4 separate regions of the Homo sapiens genome follow, and regions 1, 2 and 4 are each linked to region 3. Evidence: promoter capture Hi-C in 16 types of primary human blood cells and fetal thymus (Javierre and others, 2016). All regions are on one chromosome and are shown on one strand. Each heading gives the region's core, a stretch centred on a gene start or on the middle of the fragment in contact. The rest is flanking DNA. Distances are from core to core; before and after follow the strand shown.

What was found. Contacts are between HindIII fragments. The CHiCAGO score rates a contact against its expected background, and 5 or more counts as called.
Region 1: the fragment with the promoter of LSM10 here is called in contact with the fragment with the promoter of MEAF6 in region 3 in 4 of 17 cell types (naive CD4 T cells, non-activated CD4 T cells, fetal thymus and 1 more); the score reaches 7.9 in naive CD4 T cells.
Region 2: the fragment with the promoter of RRAGC here is called in contact with the fragment with the promoter of MEAF6 in region 3 in 4 of 17 cell types (naive CD4 T cells, fetal thymus, total CD8 T cells and 1 more); the score reaches 8.4 in naive CD4 T cells.
Region 4: a contact is called between a fragment that was not itself captured here and the fragment with the promoter of MEAF6 in region 3, in 1 of 17 cell types (M1 macrophages). The highest score is 5.0, in M1 macrophages.

Annotation. Positions count from the first base shown.
Region 1 is chr1:36,395,994-36,399,445 of GRCh38, reverse strand. It overlaps LSM10 (LSM10, U7 small nuclear RNA associated), which reads left to right and starts at 1,538. Exons shown (of 2, transcript NM_032881.3): 1 at 1,538-1,679. RefSeq lists enhancers at 969-1,680, 1,681-2,393. The HindIII fragment of the contact is 5,014 bases long and covers 1,146-3,452 here.
Region 2 is chr1:38,857,983-38,861,577 of GRCh38, reverse strand. RRAGC (Ras related GTP binding C) reads left to right here and starts at 1,806. Exons shown (of 7, transcript NM_022157.4): 1 at 1,806-2,168. The coding sequence starts at 1,932. RRAGC-DT (RRAGC divergent transcript) reads right to left here and starts at 1,685. Exons shown (of 2, transcript NR_186075.1): 1 at 1,339-1,685. RefSeq lists an enhancer at 1,587-1,881 and a silencer at 1,517-2,276. The HindIII fragment of the contact is 4,947 bases long and covers 1-3,595 here.
Region 3 is chr1:37,512,650-37,516,076 of GRCh38, reverse strand. It overlaps MEAF6 (MYST/Esa1 associated factor 6), which reads left to right and starts at 1,311. Exons shown (of 7, transcript NM_001270875.3): 1 at 1,311-1,420; 2 at 2,539-2,654. The coding sequence starts at 1,331. RefSeq lists a silencer at 1,127-1,726. The HindIII fragment of the contact is 2,267 bases long and covers 176-2,442 here.
Region 4 is chr1:36,487,690-36,491,064 of GRCh38, reverse strand. No RefSeq gene overlaps it. Among named protein-coding and RNA genes, the nearest start is that of CSF3R, 6.5 kb to the right of the region's middle. The HindIII fragment of the contact is 3,716 bases long and covers 1-3,366 here.

The DNA.
Region 1 (3,452 bases), core at 289-2,788, 1.1 Mb after region 3:
TGTCTCTACAAGTAAATCAAATCACTTCGCTCCCTTTCAATAGCCTGTCATAGCACTTCTAGTACTAGATGAGAAGACTGAGGCACAGAGAAGATACTAACTTGCCCAAAGTCACAATTAGCCAGGAGTAGATTTGAACCTAGGCACTGTATCCGGAGGCTGCACTCCTAACCATGAAATCTAAACTCCTTACCTTGGCTCACAAAGCCCTATATGCTCTGGTTCCTGCTTCCTCTCTGGCCTCTTGTTATACCACTCTCCCCAGCTTCCCTGGCCTTTCCTGTGTTCCTAAATTGTCAAGGTCATTTCCCCCAGGTTCTTTGCATGAACTGTGAAAAGAAAAAATTTAACTTTTAATTGGTGATTTGACTTTTTTTTGCCAAATTTGTTAAATCTGACTTTTATTTGCAACTCTAGAATCGGGCAACACTTCATTCTATAAAATGGAATGAGTGTTCAAATGAGCTGAGCAGAGGAGATTGGTTTTACAGCCAGAAAAGGGCTGAGGAAAGCAGAAACAGAAAACAAAAAGATTGGTTGTTTCAAAGTTACTTTCCTTGTAACTTTGAAGGCTAAAGCAGAGGGGACTTCCTTATCCTGCCAGCTAAAACAGGATGGTTTGGAGATCTAGCTATCTCTCACTCTTCTGATTTATCGGAATATCAGATAAACAACTTAGTTTCCACTTGGTGATGTAGAACTTTAGCATGAGTGACTCCATTTTGGTTCTGTTGGGCTTGGTGCAGGAGCCCTGTTCAAACCAATGGCCTCCAATTTTTTTTTTTTTTTGAGACGGAGTCTTGCTCTGTTGCCCAGGCTGGAATGAAGTGTTACTTTCTGAGCTCACTGCAGCCTCCACTTCCTGGATTCAAGCAATTCTCCTGCCTCAGCCTCCCAAGTAGGTGGGACCAGAGGTGTACGCCACCACGGTGGGCTAATTTTTTCTATTTTTTGTAGAGACAGGGTCTCCCCATTGTTGCCCAGACTGGTCTCGAACTCCTGGGCTCCAGTGATCCTTCCGCCTTGTCCTCCAAAGTGCTGGGATTACAGGTGTGGGCCTCTGCACCCGGCCCTGCCTCCTATAAATTTTACTTAACAAACTGTTCCCGCTAATTGCAATGCTCCTCCCATAGTTTTCACAAGCTTGGCTTCATGTCACTAATCTCAACTCAAATGTCACCTTCTCAGGGCACCCCTGACAATCCAATAAAAGACCACCTTGTCACCATCACATCACACCTTTAATCTTCTGAAGAAATTTTTCCCTATTTTTCTTCTTTGTTTTCTTAAGACTCTCTCCCCTGCAGCGCCATCAGCTCAGGGAGCCACTTGATCTTGGTCACTGCTCCATGCCGGAGCCTGGGAAGGAGCCTGGCCCAGGTCGCCGGTTCAATGAATGCGTGCGGAATGAATGAACGACTCTAGTGAAAGAGACTCCAATGACGCAGGCCGGGATTTGCGGAGCACGAGCCCCGCGCCGCGAAGCATTCTGGGGATTGTAGTTTCTCCGTGACGCGGTGACTTGCAGAGCACTGACGCACTCTGCGCCCGGAGGACAGAGCGGCCCGGTCGCCGGCATGGTTTCTCCGTCCTGCTGCAGCCGGCGGGAGGCAGCCAGTCCAGGCGCCCGCTAGCTTCGGCGGCGACCCAGACGGGGAAAGCGGAAGGAATGTCGCGTGGTGGGTCCGGGTCGGCGGTGCAGGGAGCCCCGGGGCGGAATGCGGGGGATGCCAGGACCTCCGGAAGGAGGTGCCGGAGCCCAGGAAGCGTTTTCTTCCCCATTTACCGAGTATAGCTCCTTTCCCCAGACCCGCTCCCGCTGCTCTGAGTAAGCGGTGCTCATCCCGTTTTACCGGTAGCTTAGCTAGCTTGGAGAAGCTAAGTGGTTTGCTAAGTGATCGCCCTCCTAGGAGGTGGCAAAGCCTGTTCTAGAACCCGGGCCTGACTCGAGGTCCGGTGACTGCTCTTTGCAGTCGCAGCAGCAGCCCCATACCTTTGCTTGATCGCAGATTCATCAGGCTGCAGCCGGGTGGCTGGTCGTTAGGCCATGCCCAGGGACCTAGCTCCCAGGCCCCCTCGTCACTGGCCTAGTCTGGCTTGCCACGCTCAGTGCCACAATGCACAGCCCTGGACGGGATGCTGAGTGAGGTCGTAAAGAGAGAGCGTTCCACCCCCTTTAACTCAGGTCTGAAAATAAGGGATAGGTAAGACATAGTGCACTAATACATTATCAGGGCATGTTGAAATCAAAGGAGAGTACCTTTAGTGGAGTGTGATTCTGGTAGCTTTGTTTCTCCTGTAGTTTAATAAATGTGGAAACAGGTTCAGAGACATTAACTTTTCTAGGTTTTCATAATTAGGGGTGGAGTGGGGATTCCAACCTAGGTTTCTCTACCTTCAAAACCTATGTACCTTATATAATACCGGTTGGGGGTTTTTTTCCCCAATTCATTATCCAGATTTATTTTCTTTTTTTTTTTCTGAGAGTCTCGCTGTGTCACCCAGGCTGGTGTGCAGTGGCACAATCTTGGCTCACTGTAACCTCTGCCTCCTGGGTTCAAGCGATTCTCCTGCTTCAGCCTCCCAAGTAGCTGAGATTACAGGTGCGCCCATGCCCAGGTAATTTTTGTATTTTTGGTAGATACTGGGTTTCACCATGTTGGCCAGGCGGGTCTTGAACTCCTGACCTCAGGTGATCCACTCGCCTTGGCCTCCCAAAATCCTGGGATTACAGGCGTGAGCCCTTGCACCCGGCCTCATTACCTTAATTTCTACTTACATAACAGCTGCATGGTGTAGACCAATAGTTCCCAGAGTGTGGGCCCCTGACCAGCAGCATCAGCATCACCTGGGAACATGTTCAAAATGACTTTATCTCTGGGCCTCACCTCAGACCTGAGTCAAACTGGGAGTGGGGCCCAGCAAGCTGAGTTAACAAGCCCCTCAGATGATTCTGATACACACTAATGTTTGAGAACTACTGGTGTCAACCAATGATTCTCAAACCTTAACGTGTATCTAATTCACGTAGGGGGTCATGTTAAAATGCAGTCTGTTTCCAGCCAGCGTGGAAGATGGCAGTGAGCCACTCAGTGAAGGAGTGGATTTTATCTCAGAACAGGCTTGGGGAGAGACCTGAGATTGCGCATTTCTAACCAGTACCCCTCAGCACTTTGGAGTTATCTGGGGAGCTTTCTTTTTTTTTTTTTTTTTTTTTTTTTTGAGATGGAGTCACTCTGCTGCCCAGGCTGGAGTGCAGTGGCACTCCACTTGCAGCTCACTGCAAGCTCTGTCTCCCAGGTTCACGCCATTCTCCTGCCTCAGCCCCCCGAGTAGCTGGGACTACAGGCGCCCGCCACCACGCCTGGCTAATTTTTTTGTATTTTTAGTAGAGATGGGGGTTTCACCATGTTAGCCAGGATGGTCTTGATCTCCTGACCTCATGATCCGCC
Region 2 (3,595 bases), core at 557-3,056, 1.3 Mb before region 3:
ATATCAGTTGTATTGAACAGCACGATAGGAATGGTTGAAACTGAGGATGTTCAGCAAGGAACAGAGAAGACTTAGTGGGTAATGAATACTGCAATCTGGTATTTGAAGGGCTGTCATGAAAAAGGTGAAGACTATTCCTATTTTATTCTATTATAGGCTTCAGGGAGTGTGGTTTGGCTTTAAGACTTTTTTTTTTTTTTGAGACGGAGTCTCGCTCTGTCGCCAAGGCTGGAGTGCGGTGGCGCGATCTCGGCTCACTGCAAGCTCCGCCTCCTGGGTTCAAGCCATTCTCCTGCCTCAGCCTCCCGAGTAGCTGGGACTACAGGCGCCCGCCACCACGCCCGGCTAATTTTTTGTATTTTTTTAAGTAGAGATGGGGTTTCACCATGTTAGCCAGGATGGTCTCGATCTCCTGACCTCATGATCCGCCCGCCTCTGCCTCCCAAAGTGCTGGGATTACAAGCGTGAGCCACCGCGCGGCCGGCTTTAACAATTTTTAAACAAAGGTTTACCACAGTGGAGTTGGCTGCCTTTCGAGATGGTGAGCTCTTTTACCTTCGAACTATTTAAGTGCATTCTGCATGTCTATTAGACACTATAGAGTTGGTTCGTTTTAGGTGAGAGGTTGGGCTAGATGACCTCTAAGGGTGTATCCTACCTCTAACTTCTGGGTTCAGACAAAACCAAAGTCCCAGACCTGCCCGCATGTGCGAATTTTTCCTTCATAATCAAGAAGTCAGTCTCCTTGGAGGGCTGGGAGCACCCCCACTCCTGTACTTTAAAAAGTGTATAGGGCTGTGCTTTAAGAGGATCCTCTTCTCAAACTTCCAGTTCTAGAGCCTGATTATCAAAAATAAAAATTCCTCTAGATTTCTCGGACATATTTGGTGACAAGCATTTGCTTTTGTTTGCTTTCATTATTCAATACTTTGGTCTCTAATCTGAACGAGGTCATAGAAGAGGCAGTGTTCTATGGGGGATGGAATTCCTAGAGTAGACTTTGACAAGGCGGGAAGGAGGGCAAATTGAGTCCCGTTGGGTTTGAAGTGGCAGCAGTATCCACTATCGGCGACTTACTGAAGAAAGAAGATAAGATGTTCTAGCTTGGCTGCATCTGCTTTCCCATCAGGGTCCAGCTACCTGCTAGAACAAACTATCACGGTGACCCATGACTCTGCCTTGGTTGAGGTTTGCCCTCAGTGTGGCTGGCTCCCCCATACCTTTGCACATCCCAATCTATCCATCCACCTAGATCTGCTCAGACGCTTTCTCATTCAACTCCCGAGCATTATTTATCCGTGACCTTCCCACATAATATTTCGTAGCGAGGTTACTTACGCAGAGGTCCGATCTCTCTGTTCATCTTCAAGCAACCTGAAGGCAGGCAGGGTCTGCGTCGGATCCAGTTCTGTGCCCCTTGGTAGGCACCCAGGACACTGCAGGCATCAATAAATATCGGTTGGGCAAGTACAGTTGCAGGATGAGGACAATCAATTCTTCCTCAAATGCCGGGAGAGCATCTCCATAGCGGTGCTCTGGGAGCCCGGAAGAAGGCAGGGGAGCGGTGCAGACAGCGTTGTATGCGGGCCGGGGCGGAGGGCTGAGGGCCCGAGCCGGGGCTAGAGGCGCGGCCGGGCCGCCCTCCTCGTGACTCCTCCTCCCCCCTCCGCGGCTCTGAGTCAGGTGATTCCGGCACGTGACGGGGCACCACCTACCCTGCTGCTCTCGAGTAGCAGCTCGGGCGGCCAATAAGCGGCTGGGCTTCGGCTCGGGGCCTATGAGAGCCGGGCTCCGGGGGGCGGGCCGGACTGTGGCGGCTGCCGGGGGCGGTGGCGGTGGTGGCGGCGGCGGCGGAGGCGGACTGGGGAGGCGGCGGCCTGGCTCGGCCTGGCCTGGCCTGTCAGGGCGCGGGCGGCGGCGGCTCCAGCACCATGTCCCTGCAGTACGGGGCGGAGGAGACGCCCCTCGCCGGCAGTTACGGCGCGGCCGATTCGTTTCCAAAGGACTTCGGCTACGGCGTGGAGGAGGAGGAAGAGGAGGCGGCGGCGGCGGGCGGAGGGGTTGGGGCAGGGGCAGGCGGTGGCTGTGGTCCGGGGGGCGCTGACAGCTCCAAGCCGAGGATTCTGCTCATGGGACTCCGGCGCAGCGGCAAGTCCTCCATCCAGAAGGTGAGCAGGGCTGCGCCCAGTCCCCCGCCCCCTCCCCGGTTCTCAGGTGGCCGGTAGCGGGGACGCCCGGGAGGGCGGCGGCCGGGGCCCGCCTGCGCTCCGTCCCTCCGCACTTTCTCTTCCACTCTTGCGAGCGCACAGGCGCGGCCCGCGCGGGGACCCCGACCTCTGTGTCCACGCCCAAGTCAGCTGAAGCCAAGTGGAGCGCTGAAGGCGAAACTGGTTGCCGGGAGGCAGGTGCCCGGTGGCACCGCCCAAGACCTCCGCCCCCTGGGACCCAGCTCCTGTGTCATTTACGAAACTGAGACGTACTCTCCAGTTCTCACTTGGAGAACTTCGTGGACTCCCTCCCCTGGCCCGTTTTGATTTGTTCTCACTTCAGGTGACCTGAGTGTTTCGGGATTCCCAGCAGAGCCCCAGGGAGCAGCGTCAGGAAGAGTTGTGACTAAGACACTGGGCGTTGTAATTCTCGCTACTGATGTGAAGGAGACTTCGCTGTAGCATTACTGGGAATTGGGTAGTGAGATTGCACCCATTTCAGTAGTTGTGGCCTGGTGAATGTAATTACTGGTGCTGTTCCCCCTGTAGGGGTGTGTTTTTAAAAATCTGAGACTTTGAGAATATTTTGCAGACCTAGTCTGTTTGTTTTCACTTTTGGGCCTTCATGAACAAATGGAGGGCTGTACACGTTTGTTTGTTTATGTTTTTGAGACGGAGTCTCTCGCTCTGTCGCCCAGGCTGGAGAATGCAGTGGTGCAATCTCGGCTCACTGCAACCTCCACCTCCCTGGTTCAAGTAATTCTCCCGCCTCAGCCTCCCGAATAGCTGGGATTACAGGCGCGCGCCACCACGCCCGGCTAATTATTGTATTTTTAGTAGAGACGGGGTTTCACCATGTTGGCCAGGGTCATCTCGAACTGCTGACCTCAAGTGATCATCCGCCTTGGCCTCCCAAAGTGCTGGGATTACAGGTGTGAGTCACCACGCTGGCCTACACTGTTTAGTGAGGGTTAAATAGAGGCAAGGTTGACTTCCTCCATCAGCCAAACCCATTATACGCGGAGTGAGCTGGTAATAAAACTAGTATCAGCAGGCACCTGGTCTTTTCACCTCTCCACTCTGTTGCAAAGGCCTATCCAAAATAAATCTGTGATTTTTTTTTCTTTCTGAATCTGTGATATTTTGTAGATGGGATCTTTTTAAAAAGCAGCGTTCTTCCAGGTTTGCTGGAGTACTGTGTTTTATTTACCTTGATTTTCACCTCTACAGCAAAACTTGGGTACGTTGACTGTAGGTTTTTAGTAAACTAATTTCAGTTATTCACATTTGTTACTGAGAAAACCTTGAGAGTAATTGTTCACTTTTCTCTTCTAGACAGTAAGAGGCAAAGTAGTTTTATGTTAGAACTGTGTAGGTTGTGATTATTG
Region 3 (3,427 bases), core at 62-2,561:
CAGATGAAATTATTATCTATGTAAAAATTCCAAGGAATCTATACAACCCCCCCTAAAATTAGTAAGGGAGTTCAGCAAGATGGCAGGTTACAAGATCCGCACACGAAACCAGTTATTCAGAATGCAGCACAGAGGGACAAAAAGATGGAAAATATAGACGGTAGGTTAAAAAGCTTCTTATGTTCGAGTTCCAGAAGGAGAGAGAAATGAGACAGGCATCTGAAGAAAAATGACTGCGATTTCCCAAAACTGGTGGAAGATACCAACCCACATATTATAGAAATCCAAAGACTTCCAAGCAAGAAACAAAACAAAAGGAAGAAAAAATATCCCACTTAGACTTATGATAGCGAAACTGCAGAACAGTGAAAGATGGAGAGCTGAGGACGGAGAAATCCACAGGGGCCAAGTGAAAACAACGTTTACACCTTGGACTTAACGATAAAAGCGAACTCGTACTTGCACAGTCATTGGCGCCTGCCAAACCCCTTACACATATTAGGTGATTTACTCCTCACAGCAAATGTATTAGGTAGATTCTATTACTGCTTGTATTTTACAGATGAGGGAGTTGAGATTTGGTTATTTGCCCAAAGGAGCACACTTTATCGATGTAGCGATAGGATTTTGAACAAGGTAGTTCTCGCTCCAGTTTTGTGCCCTTAACCACTACACATACTTGTTTCTCCAAAGGGCACTGGGAAAATGGGAAGCCACTGAAAGACTTTAAACCGGGGAGTGATAACATTTGTTTCTGGAAGATCCTGGCACCACTGTGGATAGTGGATTAAGTGGGGCTAAAGGTGGAAATAAGCCGCTGGAATAATGTAGCCCCAAACAGGGAGGGCCTGAATGAACTAGTGAGGTGGCAGAAGGCGCAGGCACAAGCAAATGGATTCGCGAGCTCTTCCGGAGTCGAGTCCATAGAGCTTGACCTGGGATCGCGTTTTACTCCAGGTGCAGAGTGAGGAAAACCGCGTTTCTGACGCAGGCAATTCGGTGGATAGTGAAAGTCATTCACTGAAGTGGACTGAAGCGGGGCGCACAGGAGACTCGGAGGCCTGAGGACGAGCTAGGCTTTGGACGCGGTGGATTTGTGGCGTCTGTAAAGCCGGCGGCCAGCCGAGGGGCAGGAAACGGCAGAAAGCAGAAGCCGCATCTCTAGAGCTCTCCGAGAAGGACCTTCGAGAGCCCCGGCCTTAGCGAAGCTCGGCACGGCGCTGCACGCGTCTCCGGAAGCCGCGCGCGCAGGCGCAGAGCGGGGGGGCGCCCCCTGGCGGCGCAGGGACCGCCCCCAACCTCGCGCCGCCGCCGCCCGCCTCAGCCCAACATGGCGATGCACAACAAGGCGGCGCCGCCGCAGATCCCGGACACCCGGCGGGAGCTGGCGGAGCTCGTGAAGCGGAAGCAGGAGCTGGCGGTGAGGGGCTAGGACAGGGGTTGCACGGCATGGGGCTCCGCGCCCGCCCCGCCTCCAGGCCCCAAGCCCGGCCGCGCTAGGCCGTTTGTTACTCCGGGGGCGCGGCGCGGCGGGCCGGGTGCTCGGCGGCCTGAGGCCGGGTGCGCATTCTGCGGCCCGCCGGCGGTTCAGCTTCCCGGCTGTGCGAATCCGGAGCCGGGAGAGAGCCGGGAGCGCGGGAGGGGGAGGGGAAGCGGCAGCCGCAGGAGGGGGCGTGGAGGGAGGACGGTGCCGGGGCCCGGGGAGAGGGCGCTAGGAAGGGCGAGCGTCAGTGAGCCGCGGGGGTGGGCGAGGCGGGCTAGTCCGTGATCTTTGCGGGGAGGGGGTGGGGAAGGAGGCTAGTGTGGGAGGGGGACCCAGTCACCCCGTCTGGACTTTGGAGGCTGGTGGGGAGCGTGTTCTTTTTGGTACTGGGAGTAGATCCGTTGAATGGAGGTTTTTGATAGACAGGGTTGTGATGTGTTTGGGAACATCTAGAAGGTGACAGGCGAGGGAGAAGAACACATTCCGGAGAATTCAGAATTGTGACAGGCACCCAAGGCCCAATGCACTCTGGTGGCTAAGCTCTTCCTGCCCCCGCGTCTCGGCTTGGGCACCCGGGAGGCCCCTCTCACCTGAAGCTGCCCTTCTAGGTTTCCATAGCAACTGGCAGCCCGGTGTCGGCGGCCTCTCTTGAGCCTGCGGGGAGGGGAGCGAGTTGACGCTGAAAGGCTGCTCACCTTTCCCTCTCCTGGTAGCGATACCTTTTGTGCGTGGGAGTGGACATCGCCCAAGTTCTGCGTTAGCCTGGGCTCTTGACTCATGGTTTCCGTGAATCCTCTAAAGTATATGCAAAATTTCGCGTGTGTGTGTATTTTTCTGGAGACATGCTTTATACATTCAGGGGTCCATCACCCCCAAAGGTCTAGACTGTCTTAGTCCTAAACGGCTCCTCCTCCCCGTATCTTCCATCTCTCCACAGGGTGGTTTAGTGTGGGCAAGCTTGCGTTTACGAGTCTAATATCAGGATTTCATTTTGGCCAGACTTAAGTGTTTGCATTTAAAAGGTATCATTCATGTCCTTGTTTTTCATCTCTCAGGAAACATTGGCAAATTTGGAGCGACAGATCTATGCTTTTGAGGGAAGCTACCTGGAAGACACTCAGATGTATGGCAATATTATTCGTGGCTGGGATCGGTATCTGACCAACCAAAAGTGAGTGTCGAAAGCCTGTAGTGTTCCTATTGTGCCCTAGTAACGTTTGTTTTTAGGACTGTATGCTCTTAGTGGCAACTTTGCTGGAGGCAGTAGTAAAGTAGTGGTGTGATCTGGACTTGAACTCTTGGACTCTGGCTCAGGCACTGCCTCACCGAATAATCTTAGACAAGGCTCACATCTGTAAAATAGCGAAAGTTGGGCCTATGGCACAGGGTTGTGTGAGGCTTAAATACAGTATCTTTATACAATAGCATTCTATTAAATTTTTTACACATTTTAATCAGTCATGAGTTCTACCCTCACAGTATTTTTCTTTTCTTTTTTTCTTTTTCCTCCTGAGTAGCTGGGATTACAGGTGCGTGCCACCATGCCTGGCTAATTTTTTTATTTTTAGTAGAGACGAGGTTTCTCCATGTTGGCCTGGCTGGTCTCGAACTCCTGACCTCAGGTGATCTGCTGCCTTGGCCTCCCAAAGTGTTGGGATTACAGGTGTGAGCCACCACGCCTGGCCACTTTTCTTTTTTCTAAGAGACAGGGTCTCACGCTGTTGTCCAGGCTGGAGTGCAGTAGCACGAACTTAGCTCACTGCAGCCTCAGACTCCTGGGCTGAAGTGATCCTCCCACCTCAGCCTCCCAATTAGCTGGGACTACAGGCACACCATACTGTACCTGACTAATTAAAAACTTTTTTTTGTAGAAGTGGGATCTCACTTTGTTGCTCAGGCAGGCCTGGAACTCCTGGTTTCAAGCAGTCCTCCTGCCTCAGCTTC
Region 4 (3,375 bases), core at 259-2,758, 1.0 Mb after region 3:
TCAAAACTCAATTAGTTAAACAGAAAGAAGGGGAAGACAGTAAGGAGTGTACCACTCCTCAGATGCAACTTAATCTAGCCCTCTATACTTTAAATTTTTTAAACATTTATAGAAATCAGACTACTACTTCTGCAGAACAACATCTTACTAAAAAGAAGAGCCCATATGAAGGAAAACTGATTTGGTGGAAAGACAACAAAAATAAGACATGGGAAATAGGGAAGGTGGTAACGTAAGGGAGAGGTTTTGCTTGTGTTTCACCAGGAGAAAATCAGCTTCCTGTTTGGATACCCACTAGACATTTGAAGTTCTACAATGAACCCATTGGAGATGCAAAGAAAAGCGCCTCCACGGAGACGGAGACACTGCAATCAAGCACCATCAACTCACAAGATGAACAGAATGGTGATGTCAGAAGAACAGATGAAGTTGCCATCCACCAAGAAGGTGGAGGCGCCGACTTGGGCACAATTAAAGAAGCTGACACAGTTAACTAAAAAAAAAAAAGCCTAGAGAACACAAAGGTGACACAAACTCCAGAGAACATGCTGCTTGCAGCTTTGATGATTGTATCAACTGTGGTAAGTCTCCCCATGCCTGCAGGAGCAGCTGCAGCTAATTATACCTACTGGGCCTATGTGCCTTTCCCGCCCTTAATTCAGGCAGTCACATGGATGGATAATCCTGATGGGAGATAGGCTCATGAGCCTAGAACATCGTTTCCAGTTACAGTGTGACTGGGATACATCAGATTTTTGTATTACACCCCGAGTTTATAATGAGTCTGAGCATCACTGGGACATGGTTAGACGCCATCTGCAGGGAAGAGAAGATAATCCCACTTTAGACATTTCCAAATTAAAAGAACAAATTTTCGAAGCATCAAAAGCCCATTTAAATTTGGTACCAGGAACTGAGGTAATCGCGGGAGTTGCTGATGGCCTCACAAATCTTAACCCTGTCACGTGGGTTAAGACCATCGGAAGTACTACTATTGTAAATTTCATATTAATCCTTCCCCAGAGGCAGGCCCCAGTCTGCAGGTGTACCCAGCAGCTCCGAAGAGACAGCGACCATCGAGAACAAGCCATGATGACAATGGTGTTTTTGTCTAAAAGAAAAGGGGAAAATGTTGGGAAAAGAAAGAGAGATCAGACTGTTACTGTGTCTATGTAGAAAGAGGTAGACATAACAGACTCCATTTTGTTCTGTACTAAGAAAAATTCTTCTGCCTTGAGATGCTGTTAATCTGTAACCCTACCCCCAACCCTGTGCTCACAGAAACATGTGCTGTGTCGACTCAAGGTTTAATGGATTTAGGGCTATGCAGGATGCACTTTGTTAAACAAATGCTTGAAGGCAGCATGCTTGTTAAAAGTCATCACCACTCCCTAATCTCAAGTACCCAGGGACACAAAACACTGCAGAAGGCCACAGTGACCTCTGCCTAGGAAAGCCAGGTATTGTCCAAGGGTTCTCCCCATGTGATAGTCTGAAATATGGCCTCGTGGGAAGGGAAAGACCTGAGCGTCCCCCAGCCCGACACCTGTAAAGGGTCTGTGCTGAGGAGGATTAGTAAAAGAGGAAGGCCTCTTTGCAGTTGAGATAAGAGGAAGACATCTGTCTCCTGCTCCTCCCTGGGCAATGGAATGTCTCGGTGTAAAACCCGATTGTATGTTCCATCTACTGAGATAGGAGAAAACCGCCTTAAGGCTGGAGGTGAGACATGCTGGTGGCAATACTGCTCTTTAATGCATTGAGATGTTTATGTATGTGCACATCAAAGCTCAGCACCTTTTTCTTAACCTTATTTATGATACAGAGACATTTGTTCACATGTTTTCCTGCTGACCCTCTCCCCACTATTACCCTACTGTCCTGCCACAACCCCCTCTCAGAGATGGTAGAGATAATGATCAATAAATACTGAGGGAACTCAGAGACCCGTGCCTTCGCGGGTCCTCTGGAGCACCAGTCCCCTGGGCCCACTTTTCCTTCTCTATACTTTGTTTCTGTGTCTCTCTCTTTTGTCAGTCCGATGAGAAACACCCACAGGTGTGGAGGGGCAGGCCACCCCTTCAGGGTCTGGTTTTGAAGGGCCTCAAAGGACATGAGGAAGACTTAGAAATTTAGCCCATGGACAGCGAGGAACCAATGGATGGATGCCTTTTTTTTTTATTTTTTGAAGGAGTTTTGCTTTTGTCACCCACACTGGAGTGCAGTGGCATGGTCTCAGCTCACTGCAACCTCCACCTCCCGGGTTCAAGTGACTCTCCTGCCTCAGCCTCCCGAATAGCTGGGATTACGGGTGCCCACCACCACGCCTGGCTAATTTTTGTATTTTTAGTAGAGATGGGGTTTCACCATGTTGGCCAGGCTGGTCTCGAACTCCTGACCTCAGGTGATCCACCTGCCTTGGCCTCCCAAAGTGCTGGGATTACAGGCATGAGCCACAGCGTCCAGCCAATTTTCTGTTGGGTGGTGACATACTGGAATTCACAATTTGGAAGAAGCACTCCAGCTAAGTATAGCAAGGGTGTATCCCAGGAATGAAGGCAGGGAGACCAGGAGGAAGCCGAGACGTCATCCAAGGAGACAACAATGATGGACTGGCTTCCTGCAGGGGCCATAAGGTGGGAGAGAAGGGACAAATCGCACTGGAAGGAGCGACAGACTGGATGTAGGGGGTGACCAGCAGGGAGGTGTTCAGGACCAGTTTAAGTTTCTGGATTCACCAGGACAGAAAAGCAGGTTTTTAGGAGAAAACATGGAGGAGCTCAGCTGGGAGGCGTGTTTAGTTTTGATGTGTGTGGAGCTTCAAGGGGAGCTGGGGGTCTGAGAGGCAGGACTATGAGGTGCTACTCAGGGTCATGCAGCATCAATATCATCTGTGGGTCTAGAATGCAGGCCTTCCCTCCCCACCACCACCACCACCGTCATTCCCAGGCCTGGGCCACCTTCTACCTCTGTTATGGCACCCATTCCAGCCTCCATGTCTTTGTTCTCACTGTTCCCCTGCCCAGCATACCTCCCCTCTTCCATACAAGTCCCACCCATCTGTTCAGTTCCCACCTCAACCAAGTGGTTAGAGCAAAGGTCCGAGGTCAGAGGTGGATGGGGCCTGAAAGAGTGGTGGTGAGTGTGGCAGAAAATGCAGAAGCCTTATTTAGAGCCCAGCTCAGCCTCAAAATGGCTGTGGGACATGAGCAGGTCACGTTCCCTCTCTGGGCCTCAGCTTCCCAACCTTTCAGGGATGAATAAGGAAAGATCCTTGAAGTTACAGATCTGGAAAGCGCCATAAGGTAAAACATCATCAGGACACTGAAGGTATACCACAGGACACACTCTACAAATGAGGAGAAAGCTTATGAAAAA